Regions from separate parts of the Homo sapiens genome. Here region 2 is linked to region 1. The links are contacts of gene promoters, found by promoter capture Hi-C in human tissues and cell types (Jung and others, 2019). All regions are on one chromosome and are shown on one strand. The core of a region is centred on a gene start or on the middle of the fragment in contact, and the rest is flanking DNA. Distances in the headings are between cores, read along the strand shown.

What was found. Contacts are between HindIII fragments. The study calls those that stand out against the background at their distance.
Region 2: a contact is called between a fragment that was not itself captured here and the fragment with the promoter of HSD17B11 in region 1, in 1 of the 25 tissues and cell types used here (hippocampus).

The regions. Positions count from the first base shown.
Region 1 is chr4:87,389,874-87,395,128 of GRCh38, reverse strand. It overlaps HSD17B11 (hydroxysteroid 17-beta dehydrogenase 11), which reads left to right and starts at 3,941. Exons shown (of 7, transcript NM_016245.5): 1 at 3,941-4,268. The coding sequence starts at 4,059. RefSeq lists enhancers at 3,074-3,646, 3,660-3,729. The HindIII fragment of the contact is 3,840 bases long and covers 128-3,967 here.
Region 2 is chr4:88,270,786-88,276,681 of GRCh38, reverse strand. All of the region lies in intron 3 of PPM1K (protein phosphatase, Mg2+/Mn2+ dependent 1K), which reads left to right. It also overlaps the pseudogene RNU6-112P. Among named protein-coding and RNA genes, the nearest start is that of PPM1K, 11 kb to the left of the region's middle. The HindIII fragment of the contact is 6,866 bases long and covers 1-5,175 here.

The DNA of each region.
Region 1 (5,255 bases), core at 2,692-5,191:
CCCACCAATTCCGGACACAGTACTACTTTGAATTCATAGATTCATTATAGAAAAAAAAAAGTGTCATTGCACACAAGCTAATGTCTAAATTTCTCCAGCTCTAAAATTCAGACTTCGGAGTCAAATTGTGAAGTCTTCTATCTCAGGATGACAAGAAAACTATGGGAAATACCTCTGTTGGTAGGTCTGGCAATCATTTCTGTATATTTTTCCTCAGTATTTTTTATAGTGAAAGTGAGCATTCTTCACTGGCCTGTGTAATTGCTAAGTGTTACAGTGGTCTTTCATTCCTAATCTGCTGGGATACTACAGAGACAGCCTTGCAAATACAGGCGTCTTACTATAACTGATTAACATATAGTAATGGCTGTCATTCACTAAGTATGTTTGTATGCAAGATGTGCTTTTATATATATCTCATTTACTCTTGTGCTTTTTACTCTTATGAATGACTCTGTGCTTTGTATATATGTCATTTACTCTTCACGGCAACCAAGCTGCTATTACATCCATTTTACAGATGAGGTAACTGAGAACTCAGGAGAGGTTAAGTAATTAACCAAATATCACACGGCTCATTAAAAGCTTGGTAGGAATTCGAACGCATTCTTTTAGCAGCTGCAATCTATTCCCTGCTAATTAGATATTTACCTAATTGTATGAAAGGGAAGTGTTATTAATGTTGTGATTCAAAATCAGGAGTTTTGATCTTTTCGAATTTATCTAATGGTTCAGAACTGGATTCACTTTTCTTTTTTGCGTTAGGGAAGAAGGCAGCTAATTGCTCTGGCTGGGACTCCCAGTTTAAAAAAAAAAAAGCCGGTGACGACAGCCTAGGTTTAAATTCAACTCTACATTTATACTATGATCTCAAGTGGTTTGCTTAGTTTCTCTTAATTCTTTATTTCTTCATTCATATAATAGAGATTTCTATTGAACCTACTGCTTAAGGTTATTGAGAAGATAAAATGAAATGTGTTAGGTGAGGGCTGAGAGAGGTGAGGAAGCTCCAGAAGAAGCATATGCCTGGCCATAGTAAGTAAGTGTTCAAGACACTGATGAAAGACCCCTATTCTTCTGGTTCAAGTTAGGGTTTAAAAAAAAAAATTAAAGAAAAATACCCCCTTATCCTTATCTTTTTTTTTTTTTTTTAAATACTATTTCAACTTCTGGGAAGGCAGCATGTAATTAAGATGCCCCACATAGGCTGGGTGCAGTGGCTCGCACTTGTAATCCTAGCACTTTGGGAGGCCAAGGCCGGTGAATTGGTTGAGCCCAGGAGTTCAAGACCAGCCTCTACCAGGGTAGGGACACCCTGCCTCTATCAAAAATACAAAAATTAGCTAGTCTCATAATCCGGTCTCAAAATAAATAGATAAAAAATTTTTTAAAAAACAGATGTCCCAAGTACAAAATATTTTAAACCCTACCAATGAAAGATGTTTTTTAAAACCACAAATACATAAAATCACATAGTGGTCAGATAGAAGCTAATCTGTGTTCTAACTGTGAATGATTTTAATTGTAAACATCTAGTTTGCTGTTCACAAAATCATGTTACAACCATCATTCACAAGACCATTCACATCACTCACATTCTATTGGTGTTAATTATAATTTACATAAAGTTGAATAGTTGATAAAGCAATGTGCTTTCTATTAACTCGTTTGAACGTCACAAGAATCCTGTAGGGTAAGTATTATTTCAATTTTACAAATTTAGAAACATGTTTAGAGAGATGAAGTCACATACACATAAGGGATTCAGGTACGACTGCGTCCAAATGCTGTGTTCTTTCCCTTAACCAATGAAACCTTGATCAACTGTAGGTTAAAACTACCCAGTTTTTTTTAATTAATAGAATGGAATAAGAAATAGCATAGCCAGACCGTGTGCCATGGCTCACGCCTGTAATCCCAGCACTTGGGAAGACCAAGGTGGGTGGAACAGGAGATCGAGATTGAGACCATCCTAGCCAACATGGGGAAACCCTGTCTACTAAAAATACAAAAATTAGCTGGGTGTGGTGGTGCGTGCCTGTAGTCCCAGCTACTTGGGAGGCTGAGGCAGGAGAATCGCTTGAACCTGGGAGGTGGAGGTTGAGGTTGCTGTGAGCCAAGATTTCGCCACTGCACTCCAGCCTGGAGACAGAGGGAGACTCCTTTAAAAAAAAAAAAAATAGCATAGCTAGAGCCTCAATATATGAAACTCAACATAGTTGAAACACTTCTTATAGTAGATCACCATGTCAGATGTAATTTATTCCTGTAGGTGTTGGACCAAAAAATTGACAAACACTGAACATATGTGTAGCCCCAGTTACACTTTTACTCACTGTGTAGATTTTAAAGTTGATCTAACAGATTTATTCATTTACAGTATAGGTATAAATATATCCTGACTCTACTTTTCTCTATTTCCTAGGAGGCTTTTGAAAATCAAATGAAATAATATATGTGGAAGAACACTTTGTAAACTTTCTATACAAGTGTTTTGTAAATTTGGATTTGGAGGCTATCCAAAAAAAAGTTGTAGATATTCTGAATTCAAAGAATTCTATAATGGGGTTCACTTTTGTGAGGCTGCCACTATCCCTTCATCCCCTATAACAACGTATGGCTGCTTAAGTAAGAGGGACAATCGAGTTTGAACTATTTGTGAACTTTGATTTTTTTGTGTGATCTTTCTGGCTCTTAAATATGAAAGTTGACTATTGTCACACAACAAAGTCCCTTCCCAAGCACTGGAGTGTCTTGCGCAAAACCCAAATCCAATGTCTGTCAAAAATGAGTTGGAAAAAAATGCATGCAATACCATTATTAAGCTCTTACTGGACACAAGCCCTAGTTAGGTCTTTTCTTCCAGTAACCAATCTCTAGAATTTTTTCAAGTCACTAGTTAGCATATACTGAATACCCATTTATATAGGCTACAAAACCAAATGTTACATAGGTAATCTTTAGGCTAAATGATTTGCTATTTATTCACTTGAATAAAGATAAAATTCCTAAAGTACAACATATATTTTTTATTTTCAAACTCTAATAGGTCAAGTGAAAAATGATTATTCAAATATACTCTTCTTTCTTGTGGAAACAATCCCTTTAATACGATAACAATTTTTTCTGGCGCTTGATTGAAGCTGTCCTTGAACAGACAAAATTTCCCCTGTCTTCCAGAAATCGTGCTTAGTTCAAACTAAAATGTGATGTAGCGCAATTTCTCAGCTGGAAGCAGAACGATTGGTCTTTTCAGGATCCTTTAAGATAGGAATCTACATTTGCATCCTCTATCTAGTTTTTGTTTTTTAGGACAAAGTCTGGCCTTTTCGTCCAGGCTGGAGTGCAGTGGCGCGATCTTCACTCACTGTAGCCTCCACCTCCTGGACTCAAGCAATTCCCGTGCCTCAGTCTCTCGAGTAGCTGGAACTACAGGCACACGCCACTACGCCTGGCTAATTAAAAAAAAAAAAAAAGAGACCGGGGGTCTCCCTATGTTGTTCAGGCTGATCTCGAACTCCTGGGGTCAAGCGATCCTCCCGCCAGGGCTTCTCAAAGTGCCAGGATCACAGGCGAGAGCCGCCGCGCCCAGCGGCACCCCCTATCTAGTGATAAGCAACCTTCAACTATGAAAGAAGCATCTGGCCTGTGGACACTGTCGGTTATCCTTGGAACTTATCCAATTTAGGAAAACAAGTGAGCAACTAACCCTCCAAGGCCGGCTCACGACACCGGGAGAAAGTGGTGTAAAAGACAATCGCGGCCACACACCGCGTGGGGGCTGCGCAAAGCAGAACTAGGAAGCTTTGCTCCGGTCTGGACTTCGTCCCTCCCAGATCTCTGAGCTAGCAAGCACTGCAGCCCGAGCCAATTGCGAAAGACCAACAAAGCCCAGCCCAGCGGAAGGAACGGTTTCGGAGTTGTTTTTCTTTGATACGGGAGTTCCTCCTTGCTCTCGCCCCTACTCTTTCTGGTGTTAGATCGAGCTACCCTCTAAAAGCAGTTTAGAGTGGTAAAAAAAAAAAAAAACACACCAAACGCTCGCAGCCACAAAAGGGATGAAATTTCTTCTGGACATCCTCCTGCTTCTCCCGTTACTGATCGTCTGCTCCCTAGAGTCCTTCGTGAAGCTTTTTATTCCTAAGAGGAGAAAATCAGTCACCGGCGAAATCGTGCTGATTACAGGAGCTGGGCATGGAATTGGGAGACTGACTGCCTATGAATTTGCTAAACTTAAAAGCAAGCTGGTTCTCTGGGATATAAATAAGGTAACAGTGTTTACTATGTTTTACTTTCTGGTACCTTTAATTTGTGGATGTGTCTGCATTTTGCTGGCAACCACCCTTTACCTCATCTCTGCAAAGCAGGGAGGAAAAAAAAATTAGTATTGCCATTTTGCAGATGGGAGGGCATGAATTAATATGTTGTATGATCACATGATAAACAGACCTAGAGGTTATAATAGTCCCAGTTACTGCCCCATTTGTAAATTGATCCCCATTTTTGCCCTAAGGATAACTCATAATTTTTTCCTGAACCTGATTTCATTGATCCCTCTATTTTAAAAATAGGGAAAAAACAATCGTTTTAGCTATATATTAAAAGAGTAAGAAGCTTGTACCTATTAAGAGAAAGTCCTACTTACTGTTAATGAGAAAAGTGGTTTGAAAGATTATACTCGCCGTTGGCTCACGCCTGTAATCCCAGCACTTTGGGAGTCCAAGGCAGGCGGATCGCGAGGTCAGGAGATCGAGACCATCCTAACACACTGAAACCCCGTCTCTACTAAAAATACCAAAAAAAAATTAGCCGGGCGTGGTGGCGGGCGTCTGTAGTCCCAGCTATTGGGGAGGCTGAGGCAGGAGAATGGCGGGAACCCCGCGGGGCGGAGGTTGCAGTGAGCCAAGATGGCGCCACTGCACTTCAGCCTGGGCGACAGAGCTAGACTCCGTCTCAAAAAACAAACAAAAAGATTATACTCAACAGAAACCAATGCTACATTGCCATAGTTATTGCCAAGAGTAATTTTAAAAAGCATCTTTTCCGGGAGGCTGAGGTGGGGGGTTGCTTGAGCCTGGGAGGTGGAGACTGCAGTGAGCTGTAAACGCCCCACTGCACTCCAGCCTGGGTGACAGAGTGAGACCCTGTCTCAAATTTTTTTAAAAAACATTTTTTACCACGTTTGACCTGTGATACTGAAGGAGTGGCGGGAAAGCATCTTTTAGTAAAAACAATAAAAGGGAAAAAAACTTTCA
Region 2 (5,896 bases), core at 493-2,992, 880 kb before region 1:
TAAATAGAAAAAGACAATGGTTAATATGCACTAATTTGTATAACTAGAAGGAAAATATTTTTCTGTCACTTCTTAAAAAGCTCAATCTTGCAGCTTTTCTCTGGTAACTAGTGATATTTTCAGCATAAGGTCATGCTAGCTGAATTTAAAATTTTGTGTACTGTATGTCCTTAAATTTTGAAAGTGAAATGTTTCTGGTTTTGACTAAATTTATCAAAACCATTTCACGAAAATTCAGCAAACGTTTTCTAGTTAGCTAGTCCCAAATCTTTTGCTGTTAAAGTTAACCCTGAAAATTTCTGTACCAGCCAAATGAATGTGTGCATGTAACCTTGTAAATGATTTGAAAATGAATCATGCAATAATCTTGATCTGTATTTGGTTCATCCTTTTCTTAAAAAAAAGAAAGAAACCAAGTGCACCACAGAAATGTCATTTGCACAGTCTTCAGTTGGAATACATAAGGATAGAGATTGTTTGCATTTCACAGCGAAGGAACTGAAGATTAGAGTGGTAAAGGTCAGTTCAGAGTTAGGGCTGGGATTTTCCTGACCACCAGCATTATCTCTCTTCTCTCATGAGGAGAGGAGAAGGTAACTCTGCGATGGCTCTATTTACCATCTTGAGATTTTTTCCTGAGCTTTTTTTGAGAACCTTACTATCACACTCCTCAGGAAAGCATTACAGTCCACTCTCTTCAGGGATATGTTTTCCAGTTTGTAGATCATTTAGGCCCATTTTCTTTTCTTTCATTCCTTTGGAATTTTTCTTTTTCCTTTCAACTGGACCCTTACCTTTAAGAAGACAGAAGCTGAAAGAGGTAAACTTTATGCATAAGACTTAGCTCTTGTTCCAAATAGTTAAAACACATGAAGGAAAAGAGGAAATGAAATATTTTCTTATGGTTTTATTTTTATTACTTCCTGAATTTTGGTATGCTCTTATTTCATAGTAACTGAGTTGGCTGTGCATCTGGCTATGTCTCACACCACAATGTTTGTTGACTGTAGTGTCGGTGGTGTGCCCCAGCTGTTCTGTAAATAGCTGCAGCTTACTGGGCAAGGTTTTTGGATGAGAATGTCCAAATTTATCCCAGGCATGTGACCACCAACCAAAAACATTGGCCTTCTCAATGCCATCAGCCTCTTTTAAAAGTATCTAGTCAATGTAGATGCTTAAACCAATCGGTGATTGACTTGATGTAAAATATGACAGGACTCCTTTTATTATTGAATGAAGTATAACTCAACAGAATTTTGAACTTAAAGAATTTAATTAACTTGCCTATCTTAAAAGAAACTTTCTAAAGATACCTTTGTCACAAAAACATTAAACAGTTGTATAAAGAAATTAATCACAAAAATGTAATTCATATGCTAACTTCAGCAGCACATACACTAAAATTGGAATGATACAGAGATCAGCATGGTCCTTGTGCAAGGATGGCACACAAATGCATGAAGAGTTCCATATTTTTTATTCTTACTAAAATCAATTCATTTGTAATAAAGAAATTAAAATGCATTATTTAATTTAATTCCTCTATCATATGCTTTGAAGTAATGATCCCAGAACATTCTTAAGATATTTTAAAATGTATTTTTCATATAATGGTAATTTGTTTGAAAGTATAATGGAGCAAGACAAGATGATGCTCTTAGTGTGTACTAAAAGAAAAGGTCTATTATAATATTGTTATTAAATCTTATTTTGTTATTAAATTTGTTATTTGTTATTAAAATCTTATTTTGTATATATTCTTATCGGTCTGTGTTTTTTAAAAATTAGTGTTTTGAGAACATTTAAAAATTTTATTCTTGATAAGTTGCCAGAGCCTTCAAAGATGGCAAAAATTGTCTTGATATTTAGGGCCTATTTTATCAAATACATTAAAGCCACTAAAGATAGAATGCCATATGTTGTGTAACTGTTCAGTTTATGGATTTTTTAAAATGTCATTTTAAATTTCAAAGTTATTATTTAAGTTTAAAACTTTAGTTTTTAGCAAGAACTGAAGCAGTATCAGTATTATAAGAGTGGATAATATTCTTTTCGGCCTATGTATATAGATAGGACCAGTGCCAGTGAAACAAAATTTTGTAGTAAGTGCAGTTTACCCTCTCCAGTTTCTTTCATCTTTTCTCTTTTAGTATTAACCCCTTTCCCCTCTTCTTGAACCCTTCCTGTGAGGTGAAGGACTGTGGCTTATTCATTTTTGAATCTCCAGTGTGCAGCACCCTGCATAGAACCTGGCAGGTACTCAATAATTATTTGGATTGAACTGAGATCTCCACGCTGACTCTTTCTCACTGAAGTTACTGTAATTTTTTCTTTGATTATCATATAGCTGATTTAATCAAATTATTATAAAATGTTTGCATTTTAATGAGCTGTCACTCCTGGGTGGATTTGAATTTTAGTTAGCAGACACCTGAAAAAGGCTTAAACCATAGAAGTGAATTACTAATGGTGAGATTTTAGGTATAAAAGAGAGGCGTGCCGCTCAGTCCTACTGAAGCAGCATTGCTCGTCTGGCGTAATACTTGAGTTTCATTGTCTCATACCAAGGAAATCAAGGACGAGGACACACAAGGAGTGAGGTTAGGAGTGGAGACTTAATAGGTGAAAGAAAGAGAAAAGCTCTCTCCTGCAAAAAGAGGGGTCCCAAACAGCTTTCTAGTCCATGGTGAAGTGCAGGAGGCTTTATGGATGAACTTGAGGAGGCAGTGTCTGATTTACATAGGGCATGAAAGATTGGTTGGACCAGATGTGCCATTTGCATAGCACACGAAAAACTGATTAGGCCTAGGTGTGCAATTTGCAGAGCATTCAAGAATCTGGCCACCCCCACCCTAATCTTTTATTATGCAGATGGGTTCTCTACCTGGCCAGCGCCATGTTGCCCATTTCTTTACACATGGTGACAAAGAAAAGGGAAGATGGAACATATTGAACATGCTTGGCCCCAGGTAGCCCTTTTCTTTTTCTTTTTTTTTTTTTTTGAGACAGTTTTGCTCTAGTCTCCCAGGCTAGAGTGCAATGGTGCAATTTCAGCTCACTGCAACCTCCACCTCCCAGGTTCAAGTGATTCCCCTGCCTCAGCCTCCCAAGTACCTGGGATTATAGGCGCCTGCCACCATGCCTACCTAATTTTTGTATTTTTAGTAGAGGCGGGGTTTTGCCATGTTGGTCAGGCTGGTCTCTAACTCCCGACCTTGGGTGATCTGTCCGCCTTGGCCTCCCAAAGTGCTGGGATTACAGGCGTGAGCCATTGTGCCCAGCCCAGGTAGTACTTTTCTATTGGCACAGCTGCTGGCATTCACCTGTGCAAGCTTCCAGCTTGCTTATTTATGTTTGCAGCTCAATTTTTCAGGTTGCTCTTTGTTAGAAAAGAAATGGTTTGGAGGCTGCTTTTTGTTAAAAGGGAAGCCTTGCCACGGACTCCTTTACCCTCACTATGTGCCTACATAATTTATTTCTAGCTCCTGTATCAATACCATATTAACTTTCTTAAGTGAAATTAAAACATTCTTATCTCCTCTCAACTTCAGTTCCAAAGCTGTTACAGCTACATAAAGAACTTCAAATTATCTTACTAACATTTAAAATATTTACTGTTGAATGGCATTGCTGTTGCCTGAGCAAGTTCACACTCAAGTTACACTTAGTGAGAGCTCTTTTCTGCCCGGCATGTGTGAGTTCAGCGTGGGCAAGAGACTTTTATGTGCATTCAGTCCTTTCAGAAATGAGACGATGCCAACCACAGACGCAGCATGTCCTGGATGACTGATCTGTAAAATATAATAAAAGCTTATTGTTTGAGTAGAAAATAAAATAAAATAATTTACTGTTGTAGCTGGGGATATTTTGAAAAGAATAAAATCAAAATGCCACTTATCAAGAAATGGCAAGAACAAGATTCCCTTGCCCTTAAGAAATTGTCAGCTATTTTTATTGCTTTTTTGTTAATGCATTTTCAACCTGTCCTTAGTTATCAGTAGCAAATTTCATCACCATCTTTTAATTTTTTTATTCAATTTATACCAGTAATGTCTACTTTTACAATTAATAAAAGCAGCCAGTAAATCCGGATGATATCCCACCAGTCCGTTGTTTATAAAGAGATAGCCACTTAGAACAAACTAGATGGTAGAAAATTAGGTTATAATTCTATATTTCCTATAAGCTCTTCAGAGTGTTTCCAGATTGCTTAAACTTTGAAAGCAACAAAGCTCCGAAAGGGACAAATGGAACAAAAAGAGAAGACTTGCTCAGACATTCAGAGTGGGGGACATTGATGGCATTATGAGTCTCACCAGAAACTTTTATGTTCTTCATATCCTGTGACCTCTTTATGGAAGAATTAAACTACAAAAGAACCAGGGCTGTAAACACAGCATTTTTGAATCCCCTATGCCGGGACAGCCAAAAGAAAAAAAAAGAGAGCATTGATGAGATGTTCTTACCGTGCTGCTACTGCTTCAGCTCATTACTTTGATTTTGGTGTTCATGAGTCATGAGTCTAGAACACCCATTTTTAATAAATATTGAAACTGTATTGGTTTATACATAGTATTATTTACACAATTGAGTAATTACTAGGGGTCATTATACTTTGAAAAGTATAGCTTTTGCTCTTTATGTTGGCATTCACAATCTTGATCATTTTTCTTTTGATGTGTCGGCCTGCAACACTGGGGGAAAGAGAGAGCTGCAGAAATACCCATTTTGTGAATTATACAAAATTATAAACATGCGTCTCGCTAGCCTTTATTTAAGCAATGAATTTAAATTAATCATTCTACTCAAAAATGCCTTATAGGTACTAAGTCTCTGCATTAAGCACCATTAACAAATGCATTACTCTATGTATCTTGTATAGCGGGTGCTTTGATTCCTTCTTGATATATATTTAAGTCCCAGTAATTTGGTGGTATACTGTAGTTTACATCCTGCTTGTCAGATACAAATTCTTCCATGCTGTAACTGTAGATTTACCTTTCTATTCTTGAGACAATTCTGATATTGCTACCAAACAAATTTACAGTGCATTTTTTGTAACTCAGTAAAGGTAGTGATTTACTGTGTTTAAGACCAATTATTTCAGTGAATGTGTATATGCGTGAGTGTTTTTGTGAGTGTGTTAAATGTAGGTCTGTGTCACCATTTATGTGTCTTGGTACAGATACTTTTTTATATAGTTTTTTCAACCTTAGAAACCACAAAATTAAGAAAGAAGTGTTACCCTGTGATGAAAAAATAGGCTCAACTACAAAATACCATCAACTGGAACAAACTGAGTTTTGGAATAATTGATTTGGCATCTCCTGGAATATTATATAATTTGCTAGTTAAATTTTCACCAAAATAAAAAACCCTTCCCTTATTTTGCAGCTCTTTCTCTGCTCTCCCCTGTGTTGCAGGTTTGTAATGTTTGAGCACAATTCCTGGGTGAAATTCGTATTTGCCTCTGTGCGTGTTATTTGTGGCAGAGAACTGTGCCTGGTCAGCAGCTCTAGACCTGGAGCCCGTGGACACTATATGCGGGGCTTCAGTGGAAAGAGAGATCTGCTTAATTTTGTCCCAGGTGAAGGAGTCCAGCGGTTCCTATCCTGGACTACGGGAAGGTTCCCACATCTCTTTGTCCCATTAGTTGAGATGACTTGCAGTAGAAATTGTCCAGTGAGTGTTAAGAACTTATTGAAAGATGTCTTAGTTTTCTAGTTTTGTTGTTAGGCAAAAAGTGAGAATTTTTACTTCCATGTTAAATGTTAAATGAAAATGAATGCTGATTTAATATTTACATTCTTAAATGCTTAGCAAATCAGAATTGACAGTTAGTTTTGAAGCCTTTCCTATAAATCCTGGGATTTTGGAACTGTGAAGTTGGGTTGGT